Regions from separate parts of the Homo sapiens genome. Here all the other regions are linked to region 1. The links are contacts of gene promoters, found by promoter capture Hi-C in human tissues and cell types (Jung and others, 2019). All regions are on one chromosome and are shown on one strand. Each heading gives the region's core, a stretch centred on a gene start or on the middle of the fragment in contact. The rest is flanking DNA. Distances are from core to core; before and after follow the strand shown.

Evidence for each region. Contacts are between HindIII fragments. The study calls those that stand out against the background at their distance.
Region 2: a contact is called between a fragment that was not itself captured here and the fragment with the promoter of PSD2 in region 1, in 4 of the 25 tissues and cell types used here (dorsolateral prefrontal cortex, heart left ventricle, mesendoderm cells and 1 more).
Region 3: a fragment that was not itself captured here is called in contact with the fragment with the promoter of PSD2 in region 1 in 2 of the 25 tissues and cell types used here (dorsolateral prefrontal cortex and psoas muscle).
Region 4: a fragment that was not itself captured here is called in contact with the fragment with the promoter of PSD2 in region 1 in 4 of the 25 tissues and cell types used here (H1 embryonic stem cells, dorsolateral prefrontal cortex, heart left ventricle and 1 more).
Region 5: a contact is called between a fragment that was not itself captured here and the fragment with the promoter of PSD2 in region 1, in 3 of the 25 tissues and cell types used here (dorsolateral prefrontal cortex, mesenchymal stem cells and spleen).
Region 6: a contact is called between a fragment that was not itself captured here and the fragment with the promoter of PSD2 in region 1, in 3 of the 25 tissues and cell types used here (liver, mesendoderm cells and thymus).

What each region holds. Positions count from the first base shown.
Region 1 is chr5:139,793,232-139,798,091 of GRCh38, forward strand. PSD2 (pleckstrin and Sec7 domain containing 2) reads left to right here and starts at 2,577. Exons shown (of 15, transcript NM_032289.4): 1 at 2,577-2,744. RefSeq lists a silencer at 2,096-2,295. The HindIII fragment of the contact is 20,038 bases long and covers 1-4,860 here.
Region 2 is chr5:140,024,201-140,029,060 of GRCh38, forward strand. The region is part of intron 1 of NRG2 (neuregulin 2); the gene reads right to left. Among named protein-coding and RNA genes, the nearest start is that of NRG2, 17 kb to the right of the region's middle. The HindIII fragment of the contact is 8,374 bases long and covers 1-4,860 here.
Region 3 is chr5:139,563,981-139,568,840 of GRCh38, forward strand. The region is part of intron 1 of UBE2D2 (ubiquitin conjugating enzyme E2 D2); the gene reads left to right. Among named protein-coding and RNA genes, the nearest start is that of UBE2D2, 5.1 kb to the left of the region's middle. RefSeq lists enhancers at 1,325-1,424, 1,615-1,754, 4,018-4,519. The HindIII fragment of the contact is 5,297 bases long and covers 1-4,805 here.
Region 4 is chr5:139,632,257-139,637,116 of GRCh38, forward strand. No RefSeq gene overlaps it. Among named protein-coding and RNA genes, the nearest start is that of CXXC5, 14 kb to the right of the region's middle. RefSeq lists an enhancer at 1,068-1,362, a cis regulatory region at 3,397-4,232 and silencers at 4,042-4,261, 4,708-4,860. The HindIII fragment of the contact is 7,601 bases long and covers 1-4,860 here.
Region 5 is chr5:139,946,421-139,951,280 of GRCh38, forward strand. All of the region lies in intron 1 of NRG2 (neuregulin 2), which reads right to left. Among named protein-coding and RNA genes, the nearest start is that of NRG2, 94 kb to the right of the region's middle. The HindIII fragment of the contact is 4,829 bases long and covers 1-4,518 here.
Region 6 is chr5:139,928,637-139,933,496 of GRCh38, forward strand. All of the region lies in intron 1 of NRG2 (neuregulin 2), which reads right to left. Among named protein-coding and RNA genes, the nearest start is that of NRG2, 110 kb to the right of the region's middle. The HindIII fragment of the contact is 8,415 bases long and covers 1-4,860 here.

The sequences.
Region 1 (4,860 bases), core at 1,327-3,826:
CCATTCCCAGCCTGACCCTGCTGTCTTTCAGGAGGCGAAGGTAGCCACAAGGAACAGTAACAATACTCCCCTCTCCAGTGTCCATGGCACCCAGAACACTCACACAGAGCTCACCTGTGGCCTCCAGGCAGCCCTCTGAGCCCTAGGGAGCTAGTTCCACTTGACGGAGGGGAAAGGAAGGTTCAGGAAAGGGTACAGCTGCCCATAGCCACACAGCTAGGAAGTGTGGGTTGGGGGGACTGGACTAGAACCCGGGTCTCCTTGCCCCTGCCACAGGCTCCCAGAGCTACAAAGGACAGGGGGCAGATCCAGGGGGCAGAGACTAGGTTCTGTGTGCCAGCCCAGCGCAAGTTAGCTGGAGAGACAGCTATGTCTACCTTTCCCCTTTCCCTGTTCTTTCCTTCCACATAATTTATTAAGCCATGCTGAGTGTTAGGTGCTGAGGATACACTGTGAACCCTTTCAAGGGGCTCAGAGTCCATCCAGTGGACAACAATTAAATAGTGCATTCCATGAGTAAGTAATCATTACAGCTGGAACAGCCATGGCCCATTGAGTGCATCTGTGTGCCAGGTCTTGAGCACATCAGCTCTTTCGGTCCCCATCCTAGCCTCACAAAGAGGGGGACTGCTACCATCCTCATTGGGCAGATGAGGAAGTAGGAGCCCAGAAAGGTGGTCCAGCTGTGACTTGAGGGCATGGGTGCCAAGGGTGGGGAATGTGGTATCTAAGCCCTGCCATGAGCACTTCCCTCCACAGCCCCTGCTGGTCGCCACCCTTCTCTGCCTACAGGTAGCAGAGGGCAGGGGGGTAGAATGCAGGACAGCAGGGAAGCCAAGCTCCCTCTGTGCCCTTTAAGATCCTGGGCACCTGCACAGAGAGTGGCTCCCTTGTTTCTGGGCTCTGCGGTAATGTCCTAGGGTTTGATGGGCAGTGAAGGATGTGGTCTGAGTGCCCTCTTAATTGACCAGCTGTGCTCACAGATTCAGATCTCCTGGGATCATGAGCAAGTGACTTATGCTCTCCAAGTCTCAGTTTTCTCATCTGTAAAACGGGTTGTAGGATTGTTTTGAGAATTAAATATGACACATGAAGAGCACTTGGTAGATGCTTGGTTGTCAGAGGTGTCACCATGGTTGATGAAGTCCCAGCTCCTGCTGTTGCCCAGCTTGAAGGGAGGGAGACTACGCACAGCTCAGATTCCACACCTCCAATTACTGCCACCCTAAGAGGTCAGCAAATCCTCTTCCTGCTCCCTAAGAAGAGTCCATGTTTGTGTGTTCATGGGTGGAAAGAAGGTCAGAGAAGACTTCATGAAGGAAGGGGCATTTAAGGAGGAATTTGAGGGTTCAGTAGGAGTTCACTGAGCACAGCAGGATCAAGGCCCCACCGGGCAGAGTGTGGATCATCTGCTGAGGTCTGGAGATGGAAGCAACTGGGTGTGGTGAACCCCCCAGGGGCTGGAGTAGGGGAGAGGGGTAGAAAGTGGCCTCCAGTGGCAGGGCCTGACTCTATCCTGATTTCCCTTCTCCCAGGCACTGGGCCTGCTCCCCACGCCCTCCTTAGATCCCTGTGGGTGGGGGCCCTTTAATGCCTCTCTGAGAGGCGGACTCTTACTCTGCAGGTGCCTCACAGCCAGGAAGTTCTTAATGTCTAGCCCAGGTACAGCCAGTCAACCCTCTTCTTCAGTTAGAGTCCTGGGCTGAGGGGGGCGGCTTCAGGGCCTTGACTTGCCCTTGGGGAGACACCGTGGGACAGGTGCCTTGGGAGATGGTTTCCTCTGCCCAGGGCACCCTCTGTCTCTCTCTGTCTCCTTATATCTGCCCAGGGAGGCTTCCCCTTGACCTGGCACAGGGATGTGGATTCTTGGTTGGACCCACCCCTCACCTCCCGCCTCCCTCAGGTTCTTTCTCCTTTGTCTCTTTCTCCTCTCTCCTGCCTCCTCCCATCCCACTCTGTCCCGAGGCTCCTTCTCACCCCACAGCCCAGGTCTCCGTCCCGTCCCGTGTGACTCTAGGTCTCAGGGGCTCAGTCTCCCTCTCTGAGATTCTTCACCTTGGCCCCCCGCACTCCCTGCTCCTCCCTTGGCGGCGTCTCCCGGGGGCTGGCGTGTGTGTCGGGGGGCTGGGGGCAGGGGTCACTCCCTGAACAGACCGCGGGAGGAGGGCCAGGACCCGCCCCCTCCTTCACCTCCAGGGCCTGGCGGGTCCCGAGAGCTCAGGTTCTAGACCGGTGGGTCCTGCCTGGAGGGCGGAGGTGGTTGGGTCTGCCCGAGGGTTCGAGGACGGCAGGGGCCCAGCGTGGCTAGGAGGGGGCAGAACCCCGGGCGCTCCCCTCCCCCCCTTTCTTAAAGGGCCCGCGCGGGGCAGAGGGGGACAAGGTGGGCCGCGCTCTCCCCGGCACGCTCGGGGTCCCGGGGCGAGCGCTGCGCTGCAAGCGGACAGGGCTGGGGGCCGCGCTTCCCTCCGGGCTCCGCGCCCGCCGCTCGCGCGCCCGCAGTGCCCCCGCCCTTCCCCGCCCTTCCCGCTCCTCCCTCCTCCTCCTCCTCCAGCTCACGGCTCCGCTCCCTCCCTCCTGCCGTCCGTCCCCCTCGCTCAGCCTCTCCACATCGCGGCTCCGGCACCTGAAGGGACGCGGGCGGGCGCGGGCAGCTCCGACCGGCGGCGGCGGGGCGGGACAGGCAGCCCGGCGGCCTCCGATGGCCCCGCCGTGAGAGGCCGGACCCGCGGCGGGGACCAGCAGCGGTGAGTGGGGCCGCGGGGCTCCGGGACCCGCCCCTCCCCGCTGGCGGCCAGGCCGGGGCGGGACGGGCCGGGGAGAGGGCCGCGTGCGGGTGGGGGGCGTCGCCCTCGCCCTCGGTGCCCACCCGGGTCCGCTAACAAAGCTACATTTCCAGATCAATTCCGCGGCGTCTGGAGCATCCGAAGGATACGGTTGTCATGGAGATGGGGCCGAGAGAGGAAGCCCGGGCTGGCCGGGTCTGGGCCGGGGAGAGGGGGCGCCGCGGGAAAGCCCGAGCCCAGCCTGAGGGACGGTGGGGGCTGCCGGGCCGATTGTCTCCCGGCTCCGCCACCCACTACCCTCTCCCCGCTTTTGTATAATCTGGGGGTACGCGTGTGCGTGGGGGGTGCCAGTGGCAGCCTGGTGGTCGGGGATCGGGGCATTGGGTACCGGGGCCTGCCGGCAGCCACCTTCACGAGGCTGCAGCTTTGAGGATTTATTTCTGTTTCCAGTTTCCCAACTTTGACAGCCCTGCTTGGCGGCCAGGCCTCCCCGGCTCTGCAGCTAGAGCGGGGGCTCGCACGGGGGCGTGGCAGTCAGGGCTGAGGAGGCACATAATGGCCGAGGCGGCAGCGGGAGGGAGGGGTCCCAGGAGCGGGCTGCTGGGGCTGGGTGCAGAGGGAGTCCAGACTGGGGACAACCCTGCCCAGCGGGCCCCCTCGGAGGAGGAGGTATTCAGCTGTTCCTAGAGGATGCAGGGACTCCCCGGAATGATCACTGGGGGCATTGTTTTTGCATAGGCCCAGGGGGCCACTGTCTCAAGCCCACCCCTTTGTCTTGGGGCCATCTTGGGGGGGCCAGGAAGAGAACAGGGAGCAGAAGCAGCAGTCACAATGGAAGAGGGCCTAAGACTCCTGGCAGCCTGGGGATAAGCCAGGCTGAATTTGATGGGGATCAGCGAGAGGGCTCAGGATTTGGCCAGGGCAGGTGGGCAGCCTGGGTTTGGACTTTCCTGGGTTCCCCAGTTCCTTTTTCTAGATCCTACAAACAAGAGCTGCTTAATAGTGGTTGGGGGTGGGGGGGTTCACTGGGCTGGGACTGCCTCCAAACCCAACCCGTGGCCCAGGGCAGTTGCAGTCGTTCTTTCATTCTTCCACCCTCTCCCCAGGACTTTAGGAACCTGTCTCCCAGGGAAGCTACAAGTTCTGGGGCCTGGGATCTCCGAATCAGTAAAATGTGCCTGCTGTCCTCCCAGCAGCCCCTTTCCCCAATATATGCGGGAAGCAGGGAACAGGGGCTTTTGAGTGGGGCTACTGCAAAGTTTGGTCCTGGTGGAAACATAGCAGGTCCCTAGGGTTTGGCCAGAGCCCCCAAAAGATTCCCACGCAGTGGGGTGAGTAGGTGGGTGTGGCCCAGCTAAAGGAGGATGACTGGGTTGTCCTTGGAAGGCCTCCCTCACTGGTGCCTCTTGCAAGGTTGAAGTCTCAATGCTTGGGTGAATTGCACCCTGCAGCCCAGGGATGCCCCCAGAGGCCTCCCCGCTGCAGCTTGTCCTGGTCTGACAACTATGGGGTGCACGCTCCACAAGCAGACCTGACAAATAGTGCCTCCCAGGGTCTTCCCTGAAGGGAGAGAGCAAAGATAGCTGGAAGGAATGACTTCCTGCTCTAGACAGGACTGAGAGAGAGAGTGTGGCTGGGGGGTATTACCTCACCTAGCTTCCACATATGGAGCATATGTGCTAAGTACCCTCATAACAGTCTTTAGAGGGAGGCACTACCCTTATTCCCATTTTGTGGTAGAGCTGTTTGTTCAAAGTCTCCTGGTTAGTAAGTGGCAGAGTGAGGATTTGCACTTGGCCAGAACTGTCTGATACTCAGACCTGTGTCCCCATCCTCTCCTCTTCTTCCCTGGAGACACAATTTAGGAGAGAGGTGGGAGGTGGGATAGAGTGTCTCTCCATCTGGGCAAGAGGGTGACCTTGGGAAAAACAAGCACTAAGCTGTAGTTTCCTAGGGAGGTGGGATCAAGGCATTCCCATTCCGGACGTTGGCTTGCAGGAGATCAACACTGCCTCTCACAACAGACGATGCTCTAGACCTCCTTTGCCAGATGGTCTTTTCCAGGAAAATCTGTTTT
Region 2 (4,860 bases), core at 1-2,500, 230 kb after region 1:
TTTTATTTTTGTTTTCATAGTATCTGGTCCTGAGGGTTACTAACAGAGTAAAACAATTTTTTTTTTTTTTTTGAGACGGAGTCTCGCTTTGTCGCCCAGGCTGGAGTGCAGTGGCGCGATCTCAGCTCACTACAAGCTCCGCCTCCCGGGTTCACGTCATTCTCCTGCCTCAGCCTCCAGAGTAGCTGGGACTACAGGCGCCCGCCACTAGACCCGGCTAAGTTTTTGTAATTTTTAGTAGAGACGGGGTTTCACTGTGTTAGCCAGGATGGTCTCGATCTCCTGACCTCGTGATCCGCCCGCCTCGGCCTCCCAGAGTGCTGGGATTACAGGCGTGAGCCACCGCCCCCGGCCAGAGTAAAGTGATTTTATCACCAAGCCAGTTGTCCTAATTTGGGAGGGACGATCCTCATTTTTTGATCAACTCTTCATCATTTCCCCACGCTCCCTCCTTTGTGGATTTCAAAGGCAGGAGGAGGTCAGTCCCCCATTATCTTCCTAAATTGCCCTAACCCCTCCCATCCAATTATCACAATCACAGACTTATGGAAGCGGCTCGGGTTTGAGACTCAGAAGGAAATACAGGGGAAGTCCAGCTTCAAGAAAGGAATTCAACATTTGAGACATCTAGATTGTCTCTCAACCCAGGATTTTGCTAAACTTTTCTAAGAAAAACTCTAAACCCATGCAGTCTCTATATTTTGAGGCTATTTTTATGCCACTTACCTAACAGGCTCAAACACTCTCTTCACAAGCTCTCACAGCTGAAGAAGAGACTACAATTTGCTGAAAACAAAAGCCCAGAATGTAAGTACAACCTGCTCAAGGCCATACAGAAAGCAGTGGACTGAGGCTGAACCCAGGGAGGCTGATTTCCAGGAAGGACTTTCATTATTTCAAAACGAAAAAAACCCCTGACAAGGCCTGATTAGTACCCTCTTCCTCAACTAAACACACATAGCCCAACACTCCTCTGGGCCACCTAAAAGCAGCTGCTGTCACTTCTGCTTGCTGGATTCAGACTGCAATTCTGCCATTCCTTTTCAACAGTCATGCTGTGCACATACCTGCCATCTCTGTAACACAGCAGAAGGCTCTAAGTATCAAGAGGGCCCTGGATAAATCACTTATGATAAATAAGCCTCGATTCTGAACCAGCTTTCCAGGCTATGTTCCTTGGGCATGGCACATGTAGGTACACTGCAGAGTCACACAGAAGAAACTGTTTCTTCACTCATTTTTCCCTCAGTTAATGTTTATTGAGCGCCTATTACGCACCAAGTACCATGAAGTTGATCGAGATACAGTAGTATAAAAAACAGCCATATTCTCCAATCTTGAATAATCTTTTCAAGGTGCTTCCCATAGAAGCTAATAAAGCACAGACTCAAATCCACATATCAGAGATTTGGCTTTTTTTCTAAAGTAACTGTCTCAATTTACTGCCTTCATATTTCTACCAATATATACATACCTAAGGTCAGTTTCCTTCCATGAGCCAGATGCTTATTCCCAATGGCCAGTTTTAATTCCAAGATAAAATCCTAAGGTCATTCTCTTCAAGTCACCCAGCAGTTGCTGGTTAACTTACATAAGGCACAAAAAGATAAAGAAGATACATCTTTTGCTGCAGCTCCATCTTGCACTCAGGAAGCTCACAGTCTGGAGGACCGCACACACACTTGCCCTCCTCCCCCATCCGACTATGCCAAGTGATAGACTAGGCCTTTATGTTTACAGAAGAGCAATGAACTGCTACAGAAACACAGGAGGCCATGATTCATTCCGACTGAGGGGATCAGAAAAAGCTTTGAGGAGAAGTGGAATCTCAGCTAAGCCCAGAAGGAAGAGGAGGCAAGAAACTGACTGAGAAGAGGAAATGGAAAGGCATACTAAGCCAAGGAAACAGAATGAGCAAAAGCACTAAAGGATACAAATGTAAAATTTGTTTGAAATTGTCAAGTAGATCATTTTAGCTATGGCAAAGAGTAAGTGTGAAAGAGTGGACTGAAGGATCACAGATAGGTAGGGGCCAAATTGTGGAAGGTCTTGCATGCCCTGTGAAGAAGTTGCTCTTTATGCCACAGGAAATAGGAAGCTATTGAAGATTTTGGGGTTGGGAAGAGATAATTACTCTGTTTTAGAAAGTGAATTCTAGCAATAGATAATAGAAGAGAACAGAGAGTCTGAAACTAGGGAATTCCATTTACAGCCGCTAAGGCAGGCTAGGTGAGATGTAAGTATCCAACTAGAAGCCAGGCACAGTGGCACATGACTGCAGGCCCAGCTACTTGGGAGGCTGAGGTGGGAGGATTGCTCAAGCCCACGAGGTCCAAGCTGTAGTATGCTATTATCACACCTGTGAACAGCCACCGTACTCCAGCCTAGGCAACACAGTAAGATCTCTTCTCCAGAAAAAAAAGAAAAGAAAAGAAAAGAAAGAAAGAAAATAAAAGTTCCAACTAGAGCATCATGAATGAAAAGAATTGGATTGGGGAGACTTTGCAGTAGTAAAAACTGTCATGACTCGTCAATGTCCTCTATACAGAGGATAAGAGTGAAAAAAGAGTCAAAGATGATTTTGACATTTCTAACAGCTTGGAAGACTAGATAAATGCTGTTATTTAGGATAGGAGTGTCCTAAACATAACAGGGTATGGCAAGAAGATATTGAGCTCAGTTTGAGAATTTTTGAATTATATCTTTTGTTAAGACCCCGGAAAGATCAAAGGCAATGCCTCGAAGAATGTTTGAGACAAACAAAAGTCCTTCCGTGGGTCTTTTTTGTTTTTGTTTTTGAGACAGGGTTTCACTCTGTCCCCCAGGCTAGAGTGCAGTGGTGCAATCACAGCTCACTGCAGCCTCAACCTCCCAGACTCAAGTGAGCCTCCTGCCTCAGCCTCTAGAGTAGCTGAGACCACAGGCATGCTCCACTATGCCTGGCTAATTTCAAAAAAAAAAATTGTAGAGATGAGGTCTCCATATGTTGCCCAAGCTGGTCTCAAACTCCTGGGTTCAAGCAATCCACCTGCCCTGGCCTCCCAAAGTACTGGGACTACAGGCATGAGCCACTGCACCAGGCCTCTCCATAGATCTTAAGAATGTGCCCCACAGATCCTTTCTATTAAATAATAGGAATTCTACAAATCTTAAAGAGCATTATCCCACTGCAGCTTCAGAGGGAACTCAAAGTAGAGAAGAGCTTATGTTAAGAAGATTCGTGGGCGTGGCTTTTGTCTAAGGCAGTAAACCCCAATAGGATTCACCGGAAAAACCATACACTTTTTAAAAGAAGTATATAGTAGTCCCCCCTTATCTATGGTTTCACTTTCCACGGTTTAATACAATAGGATATTTTGAGAGAGAGACCACATTCACATAACTTTTATTACAGTATATATTGTTATAATTGTTCTGTTATTATTATGTGTTGTTAATCTCTTACTGTGCCTAATTTATAAATTAAACTTTATCATATGTATGTATGTGTAGGAAAAACATAGTACATATAAGGCCTAGTACTATCTGTGGTTTCGCACATCCACTGGGGGTGGAACATATCCCGCATGGATTGGGGGGACTACTATACTAGCAGGAACATCACCAGCTTGGATGAAAAGGGACATCTACAAGTAGGAAGCAGGCTGAGAAAACTGCTTAGCTGCAAACACAGGCTACATGTTATGGGAAAAAAAGAGTAATTCAGAGGACAGAACCAGGAGCCACAGGGTAGAACAACAAACAGTGAAGAATCATTCCCAGGCAATAGGACTGAGCCCTACTCACATGCCAGGCTGGATTTCAAAACTGCTAGGGACTAGCGACTAATGTTGCCCTCCTTTCTAAATGGAATCATCTACTGTAGATAGAAAATTAAAGAGACATGACAACTAAATGTGATGTAGGATTCTAGATTGGGTCCTGGACCAGGAAAAGGCCATTAGTAAGACAACTGGCAAAATTTCAATAAGGTCTATAGATTAGCTAATAGTATTGCATCCGTACTATTAATGTCCTGGTTTTAATCATTTTACGTGTTGTGTCATTTGAGGAAGCTAGGCAAAGAGTATTTAGGAACTCTGTACTATTTTTGCAACTTTCTTGTATTATAATAAGTCTGAAATTATTTCAAAATCTGAAGAAAAAAATAAAAATAGTCATTTTAAAATGTAAGTGTTACCAATTTTTTAAAACAGGCATCTGTAGTAGTTATCCCAAATCTATCCCAGTGTTGTATTTGGTGTGGAGGACAGATAACTTGTCTCTTGAGTTCACAGTCTTCAGATCAAGAGGAGCAGTACTCGAGTTGCTATACCCACGGAACTGCATTGAGGAGTCTCAACTACACATAGACCTGATTGAGACGATGAGACCCTGGCTCCTGAACCTGAGCCTGATGCCATAATAGATGACACATTGGCCAGGGGGCCAGGGGGAGGTTTTGGGTGGAGATGAGTATATTTTTCATGTGTGAGGAATATAAATAATTTGTGCCAGAGGTCAAACTGTAATGTCCACAAATTCTTTGACCGTCCTTCCACCAAAAGGTGGTGTGTAATTCTCCTCCCCTTGAATCTGGTCAGGTCTTAGTAACTCTCTTCTAACAAGCAGAGTGTGGTGGATGTGATGCTATGTGACTTCTGAAGCTAGACCCTAAGAGACAATAGAGCTTTTATCTGGCCCTCTCTTGGGATGCTTATTCCTGGGCCTAGCCATGGTACTGTGAGGAAACCCAGGCAAGGTCCTTGGTCCTCAGACCCGGCTACACTCCCAGATGAAATTCCAGCCAGAATTATATGCTTGACATGTCAGAGAAGAAACTTTGAAATGACCTTGTCGCAACTAGTGTCTGACTGTTCA
Region 3 (4,860 bases), core at 907-3,406, 230 kb before region 1:
GTAACGGACTTTTTCAGAGAGGGAACTATCTCTTTGACACAAAACATACGTTTTAATTAATAATACTTGCTCTGGTAATATAGTTTCTTATGAGTTGCTACATATTTTCTAGAATAGATTTTCCTTAAAATATGCCTTTGTAAGATTTTTTTAATAAAATCAAGTTTAGAAATAATTTGAACTTTTTTGGGGGATAGAGTTTCAGTCTTGTCGCCCAGGCTGGAATGCAATGGCACGATCTCAGCTCACCGCAACCTCCACCTCCTGGGTTCAAGTGATTTTTCTGCTTCAGCCTCCCGAGTAGCTGGGATTACAGGCACGCACCACCACACCTGTCTAATTTTTGTGTTTTTAGTAGAAACGGGGTTTCACCATGTTGGCCAGGCTGATTTCTAGTTCCTGACCTCCGGTGATCCACCTGCCTCAGCCTCCCAAAGTGTTGGGATTATAGGCGTGAGCTACCGTGCCCGGCCTGAACTTTTTTTTTTTTGGAGACGGAGTCTCCCTCTGTCGCCCAGGCTGGAGTGCAGTGGTGCTATCCTGGCTCACTGCAACTTCCGCTTCCTGGGTTCAAGCGATTCTCCTGCCTCAGCCTCCGGAGTAGCTGGGATTACAGGCACTCCGCCGCCATGCCCAGCTAATTTTTGTATTTTTAGTAGAGACGGGATTTCACCATGTTGGCCAGGCTGGTCTTGAACTCCTGACCTCAAGTGTTCTGCCACCTTGGCCTCCCAAAGTGCTGGGATTGCAGATGTGAGCCACGTCATCTGGCCTGGCCTGAACTTTTAGAATTCAATATTAACCATTTTCCCCTAGTTTATTCCCTAGAGCTCTTCACAAAGTATGGCTTGACTTCTCTGAGACAGCTAGTGATAAGAAAAATGAAGTTTATTTTGGTATACCACTCAAAAAGATTGTGAAAACAAAATGGAGATTAATTTTTTTTTTCCAAACTCTTTGTACCACAATTTTAAGTTGAATAGCTGACTTCCTAGGCATGGATAAGATCAGTTCTATCTTATCTTCTGTCCTAGTAATGTGTCTGCAGTGGAATCCCCATTGCTTGGCTTCTATAATTGATCTTGAACCTTCCCAATTATCATTCCCTGAAAAAATAATTCTACTTAAATACCTTCTTGACTTAAATGTCATGAGTTGCTACATCTGGGTTCTGATAAGATTTTTCTAAGAAAAACTACATTTGACATGTGACATCTTCAGGAATTCAATATCTTGTTTCTTTGACAGAGGGACGCTATTCATGTCTGTGAATTTGGCAGTCTTTGAAATGCCATGTCTTTTTTGGAAAAAGCTTTTGATGGACTTTATTTTGATATACATCTTAAGGTCCCCTGACCTATACTATAAGCAGAGCATAGCAAAGAGGGTCATTATGAACATTGTGTGTAGTTCTGGGCAGGGCTTGGGATCCTTTGGGATTGTTGGTATCTACACCACATGGCCCCACCCTGCTATGTTTTAAGGTTTTCTGCTGACTTTTTAGGTCTTCAGCCTTGATTTTGATGCTTTGAGTGCCTGCCTCTAGCAGCACCACCCCCAGCCCTTTTCCAGTTGGCTGCATCTCATCTGTTGTGGGCTAAGAAACCAGATCACAGAGCTTATTAAAATTGTGTCTAAAATAAGATCCAGTAGGCTCTTGACTGAAGAGGGCTTCATGTGCTCTGTGAACTGTGTGGTTTCCTTGGCTGATCGGAGACCTTTCTGACTTGCTTCCTGTTTTTCTTCTTTACTTTTGCTATACAGATGTAGGAGGCTTTTTGGTGCTCTTAGAGTGCTGTAATGTTGAAGTATTTGGTTAATTTCTCTATTCTTGGGAAGGGTAAAAGGCTAAATAAATATCTTGATTCTTTGAGGAGTTGAAGACTGACCAGAGTTGGATACTAAAAGCTTTTCTTAACAGTAATAGTGCATTGTACATTTTAATGGTGTCCTACTAGTTGCAGATAACGTTTGGCATACATAGCTTTCAAACAAAGTAATGCCAGGATTATCACTTGATCTATTTCTGTGATAGAGATTTTTTTTCTTTCTTTTTTTTTTTTTTTGAGGCAGTCTTGCTCAGGCTGGAGTGCAGTGTCATGATCTTGGCTCACTACAAACTCTGGCTCCCAGGGTCAAGCAGTTCTCTTGCCTCAGACTCCCAAGTAGCTGGGATTACAGGCACTCACCACCATGCCCAGCTAATTTTTGTATTTTTAATAGAGACAGGGTTTCTCCCTGTTGGCCAGGCTGGTCTTGAACTCCTGACGTCAGGAGATCCGTCCGTCTCGGCCTCCCAAAGTGTTGGGATTACAGGTGTAAGCCACTGTGCCCGGCCTATGGCTAGCTTCTTTTAAGGCGTCTCAAGACAAAGTTCTCAATGAAATAAAGATTTCAGGTCATGCACAGTGGGTCATGCACAGTGGGTCACGCCTGTAATCCCAGCACTTTGGGAGGCCCAGGTGGGCAGATCGCTTGAGCTCAGGAGTTCGAGACCAGCCTGAGCAACATGACGAAACATGGTCTTTACAAAAAATACAAAAAATTAGCTGGGTATGGTGGTGGATGGCTGTAGTCCCAGCTAGGTGGGAGGCTGAGGTGGGAGGATCTCGGGAGCCTGGGAGGTAGAGGCTGCAGTGAACCGTGATCAAGCCGCTACACTCCAGCCTATGCAACAGAGTGAGACCCTGTCTCAAACAAACAAACAAACAAAAAGATTTCAAACTCTGATGTCTATAAAAGCCAGGCAGGTACCAAAGTGAGCAGAGAGAACTTGAGGGAGCTAGAAAATGCATGTGCTATCAGATGAGGGCAACTGCTAACCAGCTCCCTGCAAATGTTGCTATTGCTAAAATCTGTGGGCCCAGTGTTGCAATATCTTCCATTCAAAAAAAAAAGAGAAGCCACAAATCCAGATTTTTTGGCAACCGATTCAACTTAAAAAAAAAAAGAACAACAAAATACGCATTTTTGGTCGACATCAGTTTAGTATGTGGATTAAAGTAACCAGGGATTGGGGTTCATTAAGTAATCAGGAGTGTAAAAAGATTAAGTCATTTAAACAATACTTTCTGTATTTTTAAAAGTTTGAAAGTAATGCTTTATGTAAGATTAAGTTTTCTTGTTTGTTTGTTTTTGAGATGGAGTCTTGCTCTGTCGCCCAGGCTGGAGTGCAGTGGCATGATCTCGGCTCACTGCAACCTCCGCCTCCCAGGTTCAAGCAATTCTCCTGCGTCAGCCTCCCGAGCAGCTGAGACTACAAGCTCGCACCACCACGCCCAGCTAATTTTTGTATTTTTGGTAGAGACGGGGTTTCACCATATTGGCCAGGCTGGTCTCGAACTCCTGACCTTGTGATCCACCTGCTTCGGCCTCCCAAAGTGCTGGGAATACAAGCATGAGACACCGTGCCCGGCCTTAAGTAGTTTTTAAATACAATTCTAATTAACTTGCTTTTTTTTTTTGAGACCTCAGGTGATTTGCCCGCCTTGGCCTCCCAGAGTGCTGGGATTACAGGGATGAGCCACTGCACCCAGCCAATTTGCTAAGTTTTTTTTTTTTTTTTTTTTTTGAGATAGAGTCTCGCTCTGTTGCCCAGGCTGGAGTGCAGTGGCACAATCTCGGCTCACTGCAAGCTCTGCCTCCTGGGTTCACGCCATTCTCCTGCCTCAGTCTCCCGAGTAGCTGGGACTACAGGCATGCACCCCCATGCCCAGCTACTTTTTGTATTTTCAGTAGAGACGGGGTTTCACCATGTTGGCCAAGCTGGTCTCAAACTCCTGACCTCCAGTGATCCACCCGCCTCGACCTCCCAAAGTGCTGGGATTACAGGCGTGAGCCACTGTGCCCCGCCTTTTGTATGGTTTTGTGTGAGGTCTTGGGAAAACCAGTTTTGTAAATACATTGATCCCGTAGAAGTTTATGTATTACTCTTCCATTATGATCTGTTTCATGTTTTGAGTTTCTCTGTAGACTGACAATACACTTTGAAAATGTCTGAGATTGGGAAGTTACCGAAGCATGATCTTAAAGAAAGTAGTTGTAACGCTGAACAGTACTGTATTTTAAAAAATTGCTTAGGCTGGGTGCGGTGGCTTATGCCTGTAATCCCCCAGTACTTTGGGAGGCTGAGGCGGGCCGACCACCTGAGGTCAGGAGTTCGAGACCAGCCTGCCCAATATGGTGAAACCCTGTCTCTACTAAAAATACAAAAATTAGCCAGGTGTGGTGGCACTCACCTGTAATCCCAGCTACTCAGGAGGCTGAGGCAGGAGAGTTGCTTGAACCTGGGAGGCAGAGGTTGCAGTGAGCCAAGATCTCGCCACTGCACTCCAGCCTTTGCAACAGCGAGACTCCATCTCAAAAAAAAAAAAATTGCTTAAAAATACTGTAGGCCGGGCTGGGCGCTGTGGCTCATGCCTGTAATCCCAGCACTTTGGGAGGCCAAGACAGGTGGATCACAAGGTCAGGAAATCGAGACCATCCTGGCTAACACGGTGAAACCCCATCTCTACTAAAAATACAAAAAATTAGTCAGTGTGGTGGCAGGTGCCTGTAGTCCCAGCTATTCGGGAGACTGAGGCAGGAGAATGGCGTGAACCGGGAGGCAGAGCTTGCAGTAAGTGGAGATCGCGCCGCTGCATTCTAGCCTGGGCGACAGAGCGAAACTCTGTCTAGAAAAAGAAAAAAATGAAAATAAAAAATACTGTAGGCCGGGCGCGGTGACTCACGCCTGTAATCCCAGCATTTTGGGATGCCGAGGTGAGTGGATCACGAGGTCAGGAGTTCAATACCAGCCTAGTCAAGATGGTGAAACCCTGTCTCTACTAAAAATATAAAAATTAGCCGGGCATGGTGGTG
Region 4 (4,860 bases), core at 1,371-3,870, 160 kb before region 1:
GGGAGGGTTTGGTTTTTTGAGTTAAAACCTAGTCTTCAAATTGCCAGCTTTCCTTGGGTTTAAAGTTCTCCATAGAAAATGAGATTGCTTTAGAAGCTCCAAAGCTCCTGGGCCCTCTGACTTGGAGGTTTCTAGAAACAACCCACAAATACAATCTGACATTTGGGACGCAGAGCCAGCACCATCTTGGGTAAGAGAAGTGTTCCATGTTTGAGGTAGTTGGCAAATGCTAAGCTACCTATGTGGTGACAGTTGTCTGGAGCTTTTCCCATCTGATTAAGGGGCAATACTGATTTGGTCGTTGTGGGCAGTTTCTCCTCCTAGCCAGCATCACTGCCATCTTGGAAGGTGTGGCTACCTGTCATGTGTTGCACAGAGAGTCGAGGGGAGCTGGCCTCGTTTGAGAGGGCACCTGAGACTTTCAGTCACCTGCTGCAGAGTGACAGAAGGAACAAGGGAAACCAAGGCTTTCCCAAACTTGCCAGAGAAGGTGAGCTTTTTGGAAGGATGGTTCCAAGTGACCTCAGCTTAGTCCTCCTTTGGAGGAAACAAGGCAAGTTGGGGAGGCTCTGGTGCATAACAAGTTATAGGGCAGGTACTGTTTCCTGGATTCAACCTCCAAGCTTCATAAAAAGGCAGTTCCAGCCAGGCGTGGTGGCTCACGCCTGTAATCCCAGCACTTTGGGAGGCCGAGGTAGGTGGATCACCTGAGGTCAGGAGTTCAAGACCAGCCTGAGCAACATGGAGAAACCCCGTCTCTACTAAAAATACAAAATTAGCCAGGCGTGGTGGTGCATGCCTGTAATCCCAGATACTTGGGAGGCTGAGGCAGGAAAATCTCTTGAACCGGGGATGTGGAGGTTGCAGTGAACCGAGATCCGAGATCGCGCCATTGCATCCAGCCTGGGCAACAAGAGAGAAACTCTGACTCAAAAAAAAAAAAAAAGGGCGGGGGGCACTTCCTTTTGAAGTTTCAGATGTATATTGGAGGGAGCAGAATTCCTTTGTGATTTCTTCCTTAATACATTGTGTCCCTGAGGTGGTCCCTGTTCTTCCTGTCTCCTGTCAGCCCCCTGGCTCAGAGGACGGCTGAATGGAGTTGCATTTCAGTGCCCACAGATGGAGGTGATGACTGAAGTGTGTTTGCTTATGTGGGGAGTGAGATGATGGCTTTGGTGTCTGAGTGGATGCTAGTGCCTTGAGTGGCCAGCAGAGGGCAGTGGTGACCCATAGCTGTGACAACCGTGAGGCGTGTGGTCAGTGAATCTGCATGGGCACAACCTGAGAGGGGCTTTTGTTGGAGTGGGGAGATTCTTTCGGACTTAAGCTTTGTGCGTGGTATATCCAGAATCAGATGGGCCAGTGCCAAGTTCAGTCAGGTTCTCAGCCTTACAGTGAAGGAAAAGGTTAGTGACTTGTATTTCAGCCCAAAGCCTACTGGAAGTGTCAAGCTGCCAGCTCCCCTCTGCCCTCCCCGTTGCTATGGCAGCCATGTCTCTGTGTGTGAATAGGTGAACCAGGCTCCAGGTTAGGACCTCTGCCCACCTAGCTCCAGGTTACATGCAGGAAAAGATCTGTCTATTGCTGCATGTGAACAAGGAGATCCCATATTTCTAGCAGGTCACAGAGGCAGCAGTCCATTATCACTTGCCTGCCCACCTACCCTGGGCAACCAGCACATGGCTCCTTAGACCTTGAAGATGGAGGCCTGGGGACAGAAGGAGCAGAGTTGGGGGCTAGTGATAGGGCCTGGGAAATGTTCTTGTCTGTTTCAAGTTTATCTTGTATTTTGGGGCCCTGGTCTCCTCAGTCTTCCAGCCCAACAGGTGTGAGCGTCCAGGGCCACCACCCGGAAGCCAGCTGCCTCTTCATGGGGAAATCTTTGAAATTCAAGGCTTGGCCATCTGGATATGCAAATGTTCCAGATTTGCTGAGCCCACCAAGTGGCTGAGCCCCCCATGCCTGGGGCCTGTCAGCCACATTCTCCATGGCTCCCTCCTTCTAACAGGGACAGGGGCAGGCAGGGAATCTAAATTCCCAGGTCAAGGAGTTTATTTGGGAGCCCCAGGCAGGGCTGTGAGAATTAGCTACCACTGCCCCTAGATGGGGAAAGCTGCCTGGGTGCTGTTGGTACCTAGAACCTAAGCTTTTGCCTACTGATAGACTCTAAGGAGAACGGTGTATTGAGAGCTCCACGAGTCCTGCTGTAGTGCCTAATCATGTGAGGGATTTTGCTGGATCCAAAGGAATCTCAACTAAGAAAGTTTCTGGAATAAGGAGGGAAGCCTTGGGTCTAGCCTCGCTAGAGGGTGGGAGCTACCTGCAGGGAAAGCTGCTGACTTCCTATTATGTCAAACCCAGGCAAATAACTGGAGCTTAGGCAGTTGGCCCCCAGAATTGCTTATTCTCCCCCAGGCCTCCCTCTGGGGCTGGTTTTCTGGCTGTAGCAGGAGGTATGTGTTCTCTGAGTGGGAAAGGAGTGGGGTCAGGGTCAGGGCGGAAACCCGGGAATTTAGATTCCCTGCCTGTCCCTGTCCCTGTTAGAAGGAGGGAGCCATGGAGAATGTGGCTGACAGGCCCCAGGCATGGGAGAGCTTAGGCCAGCCTGTATGTGTGTGTGCAGAAGGGGACTGCACATGTGTTCAGGAGCTTGAGAGTGAGAATTGTGAGCATGTACACTCCTTAGTGTTTATGCATCAGGGTGTGATGCATAAACACGAAGGCTCTGTAGCCTTTGAAGAACAGGATCAGATCTGGGTTTGAATCACAAGACCATGGGTTTTCAGTTGGGCAATAAACTTATCTGTCTTTTGCTTTGATTTTCTCATCTAGAAAACGGGCACTTGGTCACCAGCCTGACCCATAGGCAATGCTTGGTGGAAAATGACCTTATCAAATTAAAGGGTTGTGACCGTGGGTGCTTATGGTTCAGGGAGGTAGGCCTGGACAGTGAGACATCTTTCTTGGATTCCTGTACATGCTAGAGGTTTGCCCTCCTTTGAGCTGGGCTAGCTCCTGGGACATCCAGGGACCTGGGGAAGACTGGCTGGGCCCTTTTGCAGCCTATGGCTCACATGCCCACTTGTTAAGGCCTGCAAGAGTGTGCCCACAAACAGGGTGAGCAGGCAGAATAATGGCCATGGCTAGCCAGACTGTGTGTCCTTGCCCAGTGTCTGTCTGTCCTTCCCCTTACCTTGGGGGACAAAAGGGAATCCAGTTGTCCTGCCTGGTGAATAAAAGCCTGGGGTTGGGGGAGGATTTGCCTCCAGCCACGGAGGAGGGGTATGCTGTGGAAGGAGGCCAGATCTCCCCCAGCTGTTTCCCAGCTCTGTTTGAAGGGGAAGGGAGAGGGATAAATGACTGGGTGATTGTGGCACCTACAGCCAGCATCTTTCCTCTCCACATTCTAGGTCACAGGCCCACACCTCTCTCCCTAGTCAAAGAGAGCCTCTGTGAGGGGGTTGAAGGGTGTCTTGGATCTGTGGGCAGGACTTGGGATCTGGGCACAGAGAGGTTGGGGAATTAACAAAGGTCACACAGCCAGGCAAAACTAGGGAATGTGGGGAGTCATTCTAGACAGGACCTTTAGGGGGAGCTCCCTGGCTACAAGAGATTTCCTGGAAGCCCTTGGGTGGGCCCAGGCCTGAACTGAGGAAGTGAGGGCTACAGCCCAGCTGGCCTTGCACTGGAACCACAGGAGTGGCCTTTAAGGGTGTGCTGAAGGACTGATGAATCTTGGCCCTGTTCCCACACACATGCACCACTGGGAATGGGAGTGGGGAGATTGCTGAGCTCTGGGGCCAGCCCTGTTTCCTGCTTTGGATTTGGAATGGGGAGAGCCTTTCTGGGGACTGAAACTGGTGCTTCAGCTTCTCTAGGGGGAAATGGAGAAATGGAAAGGGGGACTGACAAGGGATAGTCCTTAAGGAGTTTATTTGGGAGGCTCTGGGTCCCTTTGTAACTAGGTGGGTGACCTTTAGGAGGGAAGTGCTTTGTGTTCTACAGCTTTCTGAGAGTGGCAGGAAATGGGGCCAGTAGCAGTGCACACTAGTTGGGTTGCACCTGGTGAGAGATTAGGGGTGGTTTCCCCACCAAGGTCTCTGAGCCAGAGCTTTCAGCTGCATGAGCACAGCCTGCTCCCCCTGTGGAGGGGATTCTGGGGTGGGTGTGGTTGTATACTGGGGGAAGTGAGAATGTGGCCTCTCTGTGGGTGAGTGCAGCACCGTGAATTGTGTTTGTAACACTTGAGTTGTGTTTCCCAGGTGTATGTGATGGCAGAACTAGTTTTGCTGCTGGGGTGAATCAGGTTCCTGGAAGGGACTGGACTAACATGGAGAGAATGATGCTAAGTAGTTACAGTCATTATTATATACACATGACTTAGTAGTATAGAACCATTAGCAATGACCAAGACCACCTGTGTGTCGAGTGCTTACCATGTGCCTGGTGCTGTGCTAAGCACCTCACCTGCAGTGGCTCATTTAGTCCTGTCAGAACCCTGCAAGTTCATGCTGGTTTGCCTGGTGTTTGTTTATTGTGCCATGTTGGGTGGGGTATAATTTTATTCAAGTTGGAAGATGCAAAACAGCTTTATCCCTCTCTTAGTTACTGGGGTGCAACTTATGGCAGCATTTGCCCCTGTCATATTCTATACTTGGGCTCCTGGTCCCATCCTTTTGCCAGTATGGGCACCATTGTGTTGTACAACGTAGAGACCTAATTTGACAATGTTCTTTGAGGTAGTGGTGATGGATGATATGACTATATGACTTTTTTGCTTTGTTGTGTGACTGTTGTGCACCCAAAGTATGTAACTCCCTACTGCTGTGTGGTTGAGACCAGCTACTATATGACTCATTT
Region 5 (4,860 bases), core at 854-3,353, 150 kb after region 1:
GCAAAATAGTGAAGTTGGATACCTACCTCACACTGTATACAAAAACTAACTCAAAATGGATCAAAGACCTAAATGGAAGAGCTCAAACTATAAAATTCTCAAAAAACATAGATGTATTTCTTTGTGACACTGGATTGGGCAGTGATTTGTTGGATATGACACTTAAAGTATGAACAAGAAAAGAAAAAATAGATAAATTGGACTTCCTCAAAATTAGAAACTTCTGTATTTCAAAGGACATCATTAAGAAAGTGAAACGACAACCCACTGAATTGTAGGAAGTATCTGTAAATCATACATCTGATAAGGAACTTATATCTATAATATATACAGAATGCTTACAACTCAACAACAATAAAACAATCTGGTTAAAAATGGGTTTAATTTTTTCTTTGGAGAAATGTCTTTAATTTCTTCTTTGGAGAAATGTCTATTCAAAGGGTATGAATACATATTTCTCCAAAGAATATATACAAATGGTCAACAAGCATATGAAAAGATGCTTAACATCACTAATCGTTAGGGAAACACAAGTCAAGACTATAGTGAGATACCACCTCACACCTATTAGGATGGCTACTATTAAAAAAAAAAACAGAAGATAACAAGCGTTGGTGAGGATGTGGAGAAATTTGAACGCTTGTGCATTGCTGGCAAAACAGTTTTATTGAGGTATGTTCGCATACCATACAATTCACACATTTAAAGTGTGCAATTCAATGATTTTTAAATATATTCAAAGAGTGGTACAACCATGACTACAATCAATTTTAGAACATTTTATCAACCTGAGAAGTAAACCCATACTCTTTGGCCTCCTACAACTCCCCAGTTTGAAGAAACTGCTAATCAGCCTTCTGTATCTAAAGATCTGCCTATTCTGGACATTTCATATAAATCAAATTATACAATGTTTGGTCATTTGTGACTGGCTTCTTTCACTTAGAATAAAGTTTTCAAAGTTCATCCACATTGTAGCATGTTTCAGTACTTTTTTCCTTTCTGTTGCCAAATAATATTCTATTGTGGATATACCACATTTTATTAATCCAACCAACAGTTGATGGCCATTTAGGTGGTTTCTACTTTTTGTTTATTACGAATAATGCTTCTGTGAACATTTGTGTACAAGTTTTTGTAAAGACATACGTTTTCATTTCTCTTGGGTATATGTACACCTGGGAGTGCACTGCTGGTTCACCAGACTTTTCCAAACCAACTGCATGCACCATCTTATATTCCTATTAGTAGTGTATGAGGGTTCCCATTTCTCCACATCCTTGCCAACATTTATTATTATGCATCTTTTTTAGTCTGGCTATCCTAATAGGTGTGAAGTGGTATATCATTGTGGTTCTGATTTGCATTTCCCTAATGACTAATGATGTTGAACATACTTTCACATGCTTATTGGCCATTTGTATAGCTCCTCTGGAGAAGTGCCTGTTTAGATCCTTTACCAGTTCTTTCCAATTCTTTTTATTGTGGTAAAATGCACATAATGTAAAATTTACCATTCTAACCACTTTAAAGTGTATCAGTGGAACCAAGTACATGAACATTGTTGTGCAACCATCACCATTCTCCATCTCCAGAGCTTTTTTCATCTTTGAAAAGGAAACTGTATGCATAAACAATTACTCCCTATTTTCTCCTCCCCCACCCAACCCCTGGCAGCCACCATTCTACTTTCTGTCTCTATGAATCTGACTACTCTAGGCACCTCATATCAATAGAATTAATGTGGCATTTGTCTTTTTGTGACTAGATAATTTCATTTAGCATAATGTCAATGAACTATACCAAAAGAGGCAGAAGGCTTCTTTCCTGAGACGAATACTCTTCGTAGTCAGAACGGAACCAGTCTCATTGCACTTGACATCTGGTCATATCCAACCTCTTGGCTCCCACATACCAACCTTTCTAGTGGTGGGAAAGAAGTTCAGCTCTGGACTTCCCGAGAGACCTAACCTGAGCCACTCTTTCTCCCACACAGAGGTCCGCTTCACATATAATTGTTACCATCACTTTGATTATCACTGCCACCATTCCAGCCCATCACTCAGCCCTTCTCCTGACCGCCATCCTAGCTGCATCTCAACTACTAGCCCAGTCAATATCCTGGCCACTGCTGCCAATAACAGCTCCCATTTACTGAGCATCTGCAATGTTGTATCTAATCCTCATTGCAAAACTGAATACCAGGAGGTCTGGACTTTATCTTGAGTGCTATGGGAAGTTGTTGAATGGTTTTAAGCAGTATAATCATAAGATAATATCCATATATTAAAATATTTATTCTGACTGCAGCACACAAAATAGAAGTGACTGGAGTTAGCCCAGTTAGCAGGTTGTTGCAGGAGTTCTGGGTGAGACAAGGGTAGTGGTAGTGAGGATGAAGAGAACTGGTAGAATCTGAGAAGTGTTTAGGAGGTACAATGTATAGGACTTGATTTCAGATTGGACATGAGGGTAAGACAGAGGCTAGAGTCAAGATTCCCTCGGCATAGGCAAGCTCCGCAGCCACAGGCAGCCATGTTCAATTAACAAAGCCTCTGAGTCTCGGTGACCCTGAGGCTTCTAGGATTCTCAGTGACCCTGAGGCTTCAATTCCCTACCAATAGGCTTCTCCAAAAATCTGTAGTGTAGACACTTCAGTGAGGAATGAAACTGATAAGACTAATTTGACCACTATAAAAATAATCTCCTGTTTCCTCTCTCCCTTTAAGGGAGAAAGAAGCTGCATATTAAGGAGGTTTGAGGAGCCCCCATCTTTCCTCTCTCAAATTTTCATCATTTCCACCACTCCAACAGCCCTTAAAAAATCAATCAATACATTATTCCACAGACATATAATGGTCATGCTATGTACAAACTATGATATCACTATTTTAGGGTTAAGGATTCAGAGATGATCTCCCTCTCTCTAGCAAATCCTGCTCTTAGGAAAAGACCCAGAACTAATTTTTACTGAAGAACAGATGAGTAATGGAGTGTGACCTTCCTTTAAGGGAATTTTTAACTAATACTTTTTTTTTTCTTATTTCAAAAGTAATTCTCAATAAGTACAAGTAAGGCATAAAAGTCACTAGAACACCCACTACCTGAAGATAATAATTAGAAACATTTTGATGTACGTCTTGTCAGACTTCTGTACATATATATTTTTTTCCTTCTAGGCTTCTATTCTATTTTAGCTAAGGAACTTATATTTTACTTAAGAAGAATATCTTACTCTAAGGAATGACCCCAGCATAACTGCTATTTGGTGCAGAGAACTTTCCTTTAGTCTTCAAAAGTCACGTTTCTAAGGTTCACACATAAATGGTTACTTCTAAAGAAGGCTTTGCTGGGTGTCTGGCCATGGCTAGGTGTTCATATTTACCAGCTGCCCCTAGACAAGTCCTGCTCACCTTGGTTTTGGAGCATGAGAAAAGGGAAGTAATAGACACCCTCAAAGCTTGGCAGGGGGCCTGGTCATGGGAAGAGGCCTCCCAAAGGGCAACTAGTACTGCTACATTCTTTGCATGGCTCCTTCCTCTGTCTAAATAGCAAAAGGCTGCTGGGAATGGCATGTGTGTGACAAAGACACAAGGGAAAATTTGTTAAGAGCAGTGCCCCAGACTCTTCCTAGGGGGAAACCTGATTAAAAGGATTATTTCAAAGGATCATTAGTAGAAAGAGAATTGTAGGCTCCCTTGGGTAGAGCAGCCTTTGAACCAAGCTCTGTTTCAACATTTCTTCTTCGTTCCTCAGAAGGTCAGCTAGAGTGAGCCACACACCACAGACCAAACTCCCAATGCCAGGGACACAGACGATTAATGCTGGCCCCCTCCATGATTGGCGGTACCATCTCAACCTACTTCAGGGGAGAGCTGGAGGGTTTGCCTGTCCCTTGGGAGCTGGCATACAGTGCTGGAAATTCCAGTAGTTCCCTCACACCCAGGAGTATGATACACCTTCTGTAGAACATTTAGCTTCTTTCAAAGTAGAAAATTCCCTGATGTTAAGAGAGCTAAGGTCTCCCCTTTCACTGAAACCTAAAGAGCTTCCCATTTCCACTTCTTTAGGAAGGTTCTGGTCCCAAAGCTGGACTGTGACTTGCAGTTTCCTGGAGAACCAGAGTAGGAGGAGGGTAAAGGTGGCTTTGGACATCCCCAAGCTGACCATGCCTCCTGCAGGTGCTTTTGCAATCACAGCTGCCGCCTTTCCTGGGGCAAATACTTTCCACACGCCAGAATTAAACTAATCCCATTGCAACTGACATCTGGTCATATCCAACCACAAGGCTCCCACATATTGAGCCTTCTAGTGGTGGGAAAGAAATTCAGGTCTGAACTTCCTGAGGGACCTAACCTGAATGGACCACTCCTTTCCCACAAACAAAGATCCACTTCACATAATTGTTACCATCACTTTGATGATCACTGCCGCCATTTCAACCCACCACTCAGCCCCTCTCCCAGCCACCATCCTAGCTGCATCGTGACTACTAGCCCAGTCAGTATCCTGGCCACTGCTGCCAATAACAGCTCCCATATATTGATCATCTTCTATGTTGTCTCTAATCCTCAGTGCAAATCTGCAAGTTTAATGAAGAGGAAACTGGCTCCAAGTGTTGTCACACTGCAGAGAAGAGGCAGAACTGGGCTTTCAACCTAGGCCTAGATGACCCCAAGTCTGTGCTTTTTCCACTGCCCCATGCTACCTCCCTAATGTGGGCCAAGCCCTGGATGCAGACTGAGAAGGTACACATTTGCTGGATATGTGACCTTGCCAAGTCCCTCACTTTCTGTGCTTCAGTTTCATCTCTAAAATGACAGTTTTGTTTGAGGCAGAAAGATACAGAGCAGTGTTTGT
Region 6 (4,860 bases), core at 1,609-4,108, 140 kb after region 1:
TCTGATGCTGGTCTTTCCTGATGGTCAACTCTGTGCTCTTAACTCCAGCTGGAAACTTGCCCCTGGAAGATGAAGCTCAGCCACTACAAATGGAACTTACCATCTTCTCCCTGAGCCTGCTCCTCTGGCTCTTGACTTTCTGACATCTGTTACCTGCCTCAGCTTTTCCTCAGTCACTTGAGCTGAAAATCCAGAGTTGTCTCTGACTGACAGTGTGGCATCACATCCTGTCACTAGCTGTGCCTGGCTAATTCTGCCTGCCCAATGTTCGTCTAACACATTTGCCTCTTCCCCTCTACTCATTCTCATCATGGCCATCAAAAGCAAGCCTTCCAGCATCTCCCAACTTTCCCCCTTTATCCTGGTTCTCTATTCTAGCACCCCATGAAAGGTCCCAGACATAGTTGCTCTATTAGTCTTCCCCCAAAAGCTTTTATCTTGTCACTTCTCTGCTCAAAAGTCCTTCTGAGCTCTTGGTCAACTCTCAAAGAGTGTCCAGCCCCATGGCCTGCCACTCAAGGCACTCCGTCTTGTGTCCTTTGTCATTGTTCTGCCTCACACAGTCTGTCATCTGGCCACATGCTTCCCAAACATACCTTACTTCCCAACATTTCTTATTCTGGCTCCTAGGCACCTCATGCCATATCTGCTATTTCTAAACCTACCCATTCCTAAAGAACAGAATATGATGTTGCTTCCCTCCAATGACATTAAGCGTGTTATACCTTCTACTACAATGAATCCTGTGGCCTCAGTGCCCTGACAAGACCATAATCTTTGATGTATGGGACGTTTTCTCATTCCTTATTGTACTCTCAGCACTTAACAATGGCTGTTCATAGGGCTTATCAGATGAATGAAAATATAATTCCTGCTTCCTAGGGGATGCAAGAGAATAGAAGAGATCAGGTATAGGCTATGCATTCCTCAGAAGCCAGGTAGGAAGAGTGGTCACAGTTGTACAGAAATACCTGCCCAGAAGAGAAGCCACACTTCCATATGGGTGCCAAGAAACAGTATGCCCAAAAGGCTATCTGTAGGTCTCTTTTCTCAAATGTTTTTAACCACAGGATTGCTTCCCCCCTTGGTCAAAAGATTGGATGCCGTGACTTCTCGGCAGGCCCTCCAACAGTCTGACTCCTTCCTCTGGCTGGGGCTTGACGCTCCACAAATTCCTCACAGGTCAACCCTCCCATCGGCTGCTGTGTCACTTTGTCAGTGAGAAAGTGACTGATATTTCAATCGATTCTGACTTTACCTTGGAGAAAAAGCAAGAAAATCACCAAATAGGATAGCATCCCCCAAAGTGGGACAGTCACACCTCATTTGTCTGAATTCGTGATGTCACATAGGGTAAGCCATTGTGACAACATTCTTAACCCAAGACATTCATTTCAGCTTCAGAGGGGGCTTCTGTACCAAGATTTTAACATGATTGTTTGTGGGACAAACGAGGATTAGTGGTTTTCCATGGCACCCTTGCTTTTTCCTAAGTTTCTCCTACTCCAAGTGAGGACCAGGTTTATTGTCTTTCAGACCCAAGTAAACAACCAGCCTAATGCAGAACTTGTCTCTTTCAACAAATGTGCTGTTTCCTACTTTCCCTGGGGCAAGAAGGTGAGTGAGTTAAAAGAGAAGTCTTCTCTTCCAGTCTGCAGATGCTGGAGTAAACCAAAGGACTTGGCTAAGCAGCAAGGAGATGATCATGTCTATAAGGCACGGAAAACAAGATGTATCCTAAAGAATCCCTGCAAAGAGATGATTTACATTTTACCTGTTTTAGGCAGGTGTAAGGTATGCTTGGAAAAGGATTCAACAAAGAGGACCACACTCCTCCACGCCTCAGAGACAGAAAAGGAACAGAGTTCTGTTCAAACTTTCGGGAAGGTTCCCTTTGGTTTGTGTTTCCTCTGCTGGTAGGAGGTCTGCTTTCCATCTCTGCAGAACACACTTCTGCTTCTGACAATAAAGTGCATGCCTCATTGGCTTCTAGATACTTACCACCTGTTGCTATTCCAACTCATGGCTCCACTTGGCAAAAATGGCTGAGGAAAATCCACCAGCCACCAGGAGAAAACAAAGGCTATTTTGGGCTACCAAGCAGGGGTTCTGAGTGCAGCAGCCCATGGGTGGATCCTGATGAAGAGCACAGCCAGGGCTAAAGCAGACAGGCAGGCCATGGGATGCTGTCTGAAGTAACAAGACGCTGTGCAGGGAACATTGGGCCACCAGACCCCATTCAAAGAATCCACAGATTTATCTGGGTCTGTTTCACACGGTAACAGTCAGACTAGTGGCCAGAAAGAATAAGAGGTTACAAGTCCAACTAGAATAAAAAGCCATGGCCACATGAGCTTTGAGTGAGATAGATCTGAGTTTGAATGCTCGCCTAGTCATTCTCTCTCACTAACTTTGGCACTAACTTTGGCTTCATCATTTAACCTTTCTGGGTCTTAGTTTCCTCATATGGAAAATGAGGATAATGATACCTATCATACAAGGGTGTTCTGAAGACTAAATGAAAGGTAGTATAAAGTGCTCAGGCCAAGACCTGTCATACAGAGGGAACTCAATGTACTGATATTCTAGAGGAAAAGACATATTCCCAATCCTGAAAGAGTTTATAATCTAGTTAGGAATACAAAGTACATAAACATTAGCAAACAACAGGACATGGTCCAGCACTGGATTATGGGATATAAATTTAAACATAGTAGTTCAGAGAGTAACAAGATCTCTGAGGGTCCCAATCATCAGGGAAGTCAACATAGAGCAGGTGGGATGACAGTAGGTTCCTGAGAGTAGGGTAGGAAGAGATGAAACAGAAAGGAGGCCCTTCCCCTGGTCCGAGGCTACAAGGAAAATGCTGGGGCCAAGGTTAAAGAGTGAAGCCCAAAGGCCAAGTACAACCAAGTTAATTTTGAAGGAACTCCAACTGGATCCAGATATTGGATTTAGAAGATAAAGAATTCAAAGGATTTATTATAAATATGTTCAAATAATTATAGGAAAATATGCCATCAAGAAACAAACAAGTAGGGAATCTCAACAAGGAAATGGAAACACATTTTAAAATGGATTACAGAGCTAAGGTGTACAAATTAAATGTAAAATTAAAAAATCACTAGATGGGCTCAACTGAGGATTTAAGATGGCAGAAGAAATAATCAGTTAACTTGAAGACAAATGAAAAGAAACTGGCTTATTTAATGAACTACCAGGGAAATGCAAATTAAAACCACAACGAGCTATCACTTCACATTTGTATGGACAGCTATTATCAAAAAGACAAGAAATAACAAATGTTGACAAGGGTATGGAATGAAGGGAACCATTGTACAAAGCTAGTGGAAATGTAGATTGGTACGGCCATTATGGAAAACAATATGGAGATTCCTAAAATAATTTAAAATAGAACTACCATATGACCCAGAAATCCCCCTTTTCGGTATATCCCCAAAGAAGACAAAATCACCACTTCATAAAGATCTGCACTCCCATGTTCATGGAAGCATTAGTCACATTAGCCAAGATATGGAAACAATCTAAATGCCCATAGATGGATGAATGGATAAAGAAAATGTAGTGTGTGTGTGTGTGTGTGTGTGTGTGTGTGTGTGTGTGTATACACAGTGAACTATTTTTCAGGCTTTAAAAAGGAAATTCTGCCATTTGCCACATCATGATGGACCAGGAGGACAGGAAGATGTTATGCTAAGGGAAATAAGCCAGACACAGAAAGAAAAATATTGCATGATCTCACTTATTAGTAGATTTTTTTTTTTAAAAAAAGCTCAAATACATGAGACAGAGAATGAAGCATTAGTTACCATGAGAGTGGCAAGGTAGGAAATTGGGAGATGGAGGTCAAAGGATAAAAATAGCAGATATGTAGGATGAACAGATCTAGAGGCCTAAGGTACAACATGAGAACTACAGTTAATAGAATTGTATTTGGGATTTTGGTTCATTAAGTAGATTTTATCTGTCCTTATCACACAAAAAATACTGTGAAATAACAGATATGCTAATCTACTTTATTATAGTAAGTATTTTACTATCTATATGTATCCCATAATAGCATGTTGTAAAATCTCAAGTATACACAATAAAATTTATTCAGGAAAGAGGAAAGAGAAAGAGAATAGAGAAAGAAATCTCCTAGAAGTGTCAAGAAGAAAAAGAACTGAAGTAAACAGACATATTGGATGGTTAAACCATAAATGAAAAAGGCTCAAATAAACTAGTATTTATTTAAAAATTTTAAAAAATCATATTAATAATTATATTAAATGTAAGTGGTCTGACTCCAATTAAAAGGCAGAGATTGACAGACTATATTAAAAAGTGAGAACAGGCCGCACGCGGTGGCTCACGCCTGTAAGCCCAGCACTTTGGGAGGCCAAGGTGGGCGGATCACTTGAGGTCAGGAGTTTGAGACCAGCCTGGCCAACATGGTGAAACCCTGTCTCTACTAAAAATACAAAAAATAGCCGAGCATGGTGGCACCTGCCTGTAATCCCAGCTATTTAGGAGGCTGAGGCAGGAGAATGGCTTGAATCCAGGAGGTGGAGGTTGCAGTGAGCTGAGATCATACCATTGCACTCCAGCCTGGCTGACAGAGTGAGACTCCGTCTCAAAAAAAAAAAGCAAGAACAAATTATGTGCTTTCCTCAAAAGGGACACTTTAAATACTAAGATACAAATAGACTAGAAGTAAAATACTGTAAAACCATGCAAATAACAAAAGTAAAAACTAAAAGCAGAAGGCTGGAAATTACACAAACCTTAAAGGTAAGGAAACTGGAATAGCTCTCTTAATACAAGACAAAATAGGCTTCAAGAAAAGGAATATACTAG